2 separate regions of the Homo sapiens genome follow, and region 1 is linked to region 2. The links are contacts of gene promoters, found by promoter capture Hi-C in blood cells and fetal thymus (Javierre and others, 2016). All regions are on one chromosome and are shown on one strand. The core of a region is centred on a gene start or on the middle of the fragment in contact, and the rest is flanking DNA. Distances in the headings are between cores, read along the strand shown. Region 1 overlaps HEXD (hexosaminidase D). Region 2 holds the start of CD7 (CD7 molecule).

Evidence for each region. The method cuts DNA at HindIII sites, captures the fragments that hold promoters and counts their contacts. A CHiCAGO score of 5 or more calls a contact.
Region 1: a fragment that was not itself captured here is called in contact with the fragment with the promoter of CD7 in region 2 in 1 of 17 cell types (M0 macrophages); the score reaches 5.3 in M0 macrophages.

The regions. Positions count from the first base shown.
Region 1 is chr17:82,422,375-82,425,074 of GRCh38, reverse strand. It overlaps HEXD (hexosaminidase D), which reads right to left. Exons shown (of 13, transcript NM_001330542.2): 3 at 572-681. Among named protein-coding and RNA genes, the nearest start is that of HEXD-IT1, 1.6 kb to the left of the region's middle. RefSeq lists an enhancer at 257-1,092. The HindIII fragment of the contact is 7,971 bases long and covers 1-2,700 here.
Region 2 is chr17:82,316,259-82,318,958 of GRCh38, reverse strand. CD7 (CD7 molecule) reads left to right here and starts at 1,351. Exons shown (of 4, transcript NM_006137.7): 1 at 1,351-1,545; 2 at 1,978-2,292; 3 at 2,550-2,700. The coding sequence starts at 1,464. The HindIII fragment of the contact is 24,830 bases long and covers 1-2,700 here.

The DNA of each region.
Region 1 (2,700 bases), core at 133-2,632, 110 kb before region 2:
CCAGCCTTCTCCAGCCTTCTCTGGCCTCCTCCAGCCTCCTCCAGCCTTCTCTAGCCTCCTCCAGCCTTCTCCGGCCTTCTCTAGCCCAGCCTTCTCTGGCCTTCTCTAACCTTCTGTAGTCCAGCCTTCTCCAGCCTTCTCCAGCCTTCTCTAGCCTTCTCCAGCTTTCTCTAGCCTTCTCTAGCCCAGCCTTCTCTGGCCTTCCTTCTCTGGCCTTCTCTAACCTTCTCTAACCTTCTCTAACCTTCTGTAGTCCAGCCTTCTCCCATCAACAGAAGAAACGCCTGCAGGACAGAGACAGGAACTGCAGCTCTTCCCTGTAGGGGGCGCTGCTGATGCTTACTTTCCCTTTAAATGTTTCAAAATTCTCTCCAGTGAATGTTTGAAATGAAACTTTGTTTTCATACAATTAAAGAGATGAATTTAAAAAGACAAAAAAGGAATGTACCCACCACTGTTCAGTTCCTGACTGTGCCACCCGCACCTCCAGGTTGCTGCTCCTCCTGCCCTGCGGAACCCCCCCTTCCCCGCTTTCACGCCGCGCCCCTGTACCTGCCACGGGCAGTGTTACCTGTAGGCGTACTTGGCCCTCAGCAGCCTCAGAGGGCCCTCGTAGGGAAACATGTCTTCATACTCAATGAGGAGGCCGTTTGCACCTAGCGCACGGAACAGAGGAAAAATCTGGGGGGTAAACAGGGAGGGGTTAGGAAGAAGTGGCTGCTGGAGCACGATGTGGCAAGTCCACAGCAGGGAGACGCCTTCCCTTTCAGCCTGTGGAGACTGTGGGAGTTGCTACTTCTATTTCTCCTGGGAACCTTAAATCCGGAATGTGTACTTTACGTTATGCCAAATGAAACTCCCCGTTCCAGTGACTATTTTGCACAGAAGGGGAGATATGCTATGAAACAGGGCTGCTACTCAACGCGCTGGTGGCTCAGCTTGGGAGGGACGGGTCCGGCCAGCAGGGAGCCACCAAGAAGCAGCTCTTCATGCACGGCGGCCCAGCAAGGCAGCCAGGCTGAGGGGCACCAGCAAGGCATGGGGGACAGGGCAGCCAGGCTGAAGGAGAATGGCAAGGCATGGGGGACGGGGCAGGAGGAGCCGGGGCAGGGGGAGCAGGGCTCTGAAGGGTTGGGGTCAGCACCTGGGGGAGGTGAGAGAGGGGTGCAGAACTCATTCGTTCCTGGTCTGTACTCATGGGGTCCCTTCCCCCTTATTCTCCTCCCCACTTCCTTGTCTTTCTCTCTTTTTTTTTTTTTTTTGAGATGGAGTCTCGCTCTCTCGCCCAGGCTGGAGTGGAGTGGCGTGATCTTGGCTCGTTGCAACCTCTGCCTCCCGGGTTCAAGCGATTCTCCTGCCCCAGCCTCCCGAGTAGCTGGGATTACAGGCGCCCGCCCCGATGCCCAGCTAATTTTTGTATTTTTAGTAGAGACGGGGTTTCACCATGTTGGCCAGGCTGGTCTCGAACTCCTGACCTCAGGTAATCTGCCCCTCGGCCTTCCAAAATGCTGGGATTACAGGTGTGAGCCACTGTGCCCGGCCTCTCTCTTTTTTTTAACAGATGGGGTCTCACTCTGTTGCCCAGGCTGGAGCGTGCTGGCATGATCATGGCTCGCTGCAGCACCCAACTCCTGGGCTCAAGTGATCCTCCAGCCTCAGCCTTCCAAGGAGCTGGGACTACAGGCACATGCTAGGCCTCCTGGATGACACACATGCAGGAGAACTAAGGAGCCCCAGCTGACAGTTGGGATGAACTGCCGGACATGGAAGGCCACGCGGACCATCAGAGGTTTCTAGATGTTACGGGGCTGTGACCACCTGAGGGCACCTCGGTCAGAAAAGCAGAATCACGCAGCCAACCCACAGAAACACAAGGGGTGATGAATGGGGACCTCAAGTTTGGGGAGATCTGTCACGCAGCAACAGATGATGGAAACAGGGACTCCAGCTGTGTGTAAGTTGGATCTTCTTTGCCTATATTCAATTGTCAGAACGCCTTTCCTTTCTTTTTTTTTTTGAGATGGAGTTTTGCTCTTGTCCCCCAGGATGGAGTGCAGTGGCACGATCTCAGCTCACCACAACCTCCGCCTCCCGGGTTCAAGCAATTCTCCTGCCTCAGTCTCCCGAGTAGCTGAGATTACAGGCACCTGACACCACGCCTGGCTAATTTTTGTATTTTTAATAGAGACAGGGTTTCACCATGTTGGTCAGGCTGGTCTCGAACTCCTGACCTCAGGTGATCCACCCTCCTCAGCCTCCCAAAGTGCTGGGATTATAGGCATGAGCCACCGCGCCTGGCCCAAGTCAAAATGCCTCTTCATCAGCTGTATGTAAGTTCAGTCTTCTTTGCCATATTCAATTTGTCAGAACGCCTTTTCATCTCTGTTTGCTTTTTTCTTTTCTGTCATCTGTTTCCAAATACTGCACTTTCCATGGTGTCTACTCACTTGTACACTTCTTATAGTTTAGTCTTCATTAAAAACATTGTTTTTTCCTTATAATTCATTTCTGAGCTCCACAGGCAATTTTTTACAACCTCCTTTTGTCTGATTACCACATTTCTGGGCTTTTTTTTTTTTAGACTGAGTCTTGCTCTATCGCCCAGGCTGGAGTGCAGTGGCACGATCTTGGCTCACTGCAACCTCCACCACCCAGGTTCAGGTGATTCTCATGCCTCAGCCTCCCAAGTAGGTGGGATTA
Region 2 (2,700 bases), core at 102-2,601:
GTCCACACACACCCGTCTCTGCACACACGCGTGTCCACACACATCCGTCTCTGCACACACGCGTGGAGTCATGCGCACCCATCTGCACACACACGTGTTCACACGCACCCGTCTCTGCACATGCGTGTCCACACACACCCGTCTCTGCACACACGCGTGTCCACACGCACCCGTCTCTGCACACACGCATGGAGTCAAGTGCACCCGTCTCTGCACACACGTGTCCACACACACCCGTCTCTGCACACGCACATCCACACGCACACGTCTCTGCACACGCACGTGTCCACACGCACCCATCTCTGCACATGCGTGTCCACACACACCCGTCTCTGCACACACGTGTCCACACGCACCCGTCTCTGCACACACGCATGGAGTCACACGCACCCGTCTCTGCACACACAAGTGTCCACACACAGCCGTCTCTGTACACGCACGTCCACACGCACACGTCTCTGCACACACACGTCCACACGCACCCGCCTCTGCACACGCACGTGTCCACACGCATCCGTCTCTGCACACACACGTGTCCACACGCACCCGTCTCTGCACACACACGTGTCCACACGCACCCGTCTCTGCACACACATGTCCATACGCACCCGTCTCTGCACACACACGTGTCCACACACTCCTGCTCATGTGCTGCACCTACTGGCTTTGGGCACCAACGTCAACGCTTCGTCATTGTGGCGGGAGGCCCTCAGGACAGAGAAGTGCCCCCTCCCAGAGGACTCAGTCACCCTGGGGTCAGAGCCCAGGCACAGGTCTCCCTCAGCCCCTGAAGCTGGGCACTGCGGCCTGACGCACTCCTCCCAGGGAGGTCGGGAAACCTCAGGCCTGGACCATACCTCAGACCTCCCGCCTCCAGGACATGGAACGCAGAGCCACGGTCAGCTGGTCGGCTGCAGCGTTGGGTGCGGGTGCAGGCCCAGGCTCCTTCCCCACGGCCAAACCAGGGGGTGCCAATTCTGGCCTGCCCTGTGCTCCTCTGCACTGTGTGGGTGACTCATGGGTCATGGGTGGCTCCAGATTTCTGGGCATAAATTGGGTCCCAGCAGAAAGTACCCCAGAGGACCAGGCAGGCTGGGGGCCAGCTCTGCCGCTCACTTCCAGACCCTGCCACCCGTCCCCAGCCAGGGAGTCCCTTCTCTGTCCTCTGGTCTGCCCCGCCCCAGGCCTTGACCTCCTCCCTGTGGAGATGCAGGGGCAGTGGGGGATACAGGGACGCCCTGCTCTCAGGGCAGCTCTCAGGGAGGCAGTGCTGGGGAGGGGTAGGTGAGACCGCCCCTCCCACCGGGCCCACAGCACCACCCTGGTCTGAGGCACCGCCTCCAGGAAGCCCTCTCTGAGCTCTGAGCGCCTGCGGTCTCCTGTGTGCTGCTCTCTGTGGGGTCCTGTAGACCCAGAGAGGCTCAGCTGCACTCGCCCGGCTGGGAGAGCTGGGTGTGGGGAACATGGCCGGGCCTCCGAGGCTCCTGCTGCTGCCCCTGCTTCTGGCGCTGGCTCGCGGCCTGCCTGGGGCCCTGGCTGCCCAAGGTAAGAGCTTCCCAGGCTCTCCATGGCCACAGCTCCAGAGCTCTCCCTGCCCCATGAGCTCAGAGCCCCCAGTCTGAGCCACAGCACAGCCCCCAGGAAGCGGGTGGGGTGCTGAGCGGCCTCCAGTGTCTGAGGACTCATTTAAGAGAAGGAAAAAGGGTGGACCCCGGTGGGGAGTGGCCGGGGCTGTCCAGGCAGGGCCGCTGCTTTGGGAGGAAGAAGCCCACAGTCTCGGAACACGAGGACAGCACCTCCCCCAACACCACAGCCGGTGCCCAGATCTGCTCCATGCCCCGTAAGGCACCGTGTCTTTGGCGACATGTCAGCCCTGGGCTGTCTCAGGGCCCCACCATCCCCACCACTGTCCCCTGCAGGGAGGACATTCTCTGTCCTTCTGGCCAGACTGATGGTGACAGCCCAGGTCCTCCCCAGAGGTGCAGCAGTCTCCCCACTGCACGACTGTCCCCGTGGGAGCCTCCGTCAACATCACCTGCTCCACCAGCGGGGGCCTGCGTGGGATCTACCTGAGGCAGCTCGGGCCACAGCCCCAAGACATCATTTACTACGAGGACGGGGTGGTGCCCACTACGGACAGACGGTTCCGGGGCCGCATCGACTTCTCAGGGTCCCAGGACAACCTGACTATCACCATGCACCGCCTGCAGCTGTCGGACACTGGCACCTACACCTGCCAGGCCATCACGGAGGTCAATGTCTACGGCTCCGGCACCCTGGTCCTGGTGACAGGTAGGGAATGTGCCCATCCCAGACCCCCCTCCCAACCCCAGCTGCTGGCCAGGCTCTGCTCCCCCAGCCCTTGTCGTGGGACCCTCCCTCCTACATGTGCCTGAACTGTTCCAGCTCCCAGCCCACTGCCCCCAGCAGCCTCCTAGATAGCTGCCCCTCCTCCCCTCCACAGCCTTTCCCTGCCCCGAATCCCAAACCCCGGGGGCTCTAACAGGTTCTCCACCGGGAGAATCCCTTCCTTCTTTTTTCCTTCTCAGAGGAACAGTCCCAAGGATGGCACAGATGCTCGGACGCCCCACCAAGGGCCTCTGCCCTCCCTGCCCCACCGACAGGCTCCGCCCTCCCTGACCCGCAGACAGCCTCTGCCCTCCCTGACCCGCCAGCAGCCTCTGCCCTCCCTGCGGCCCT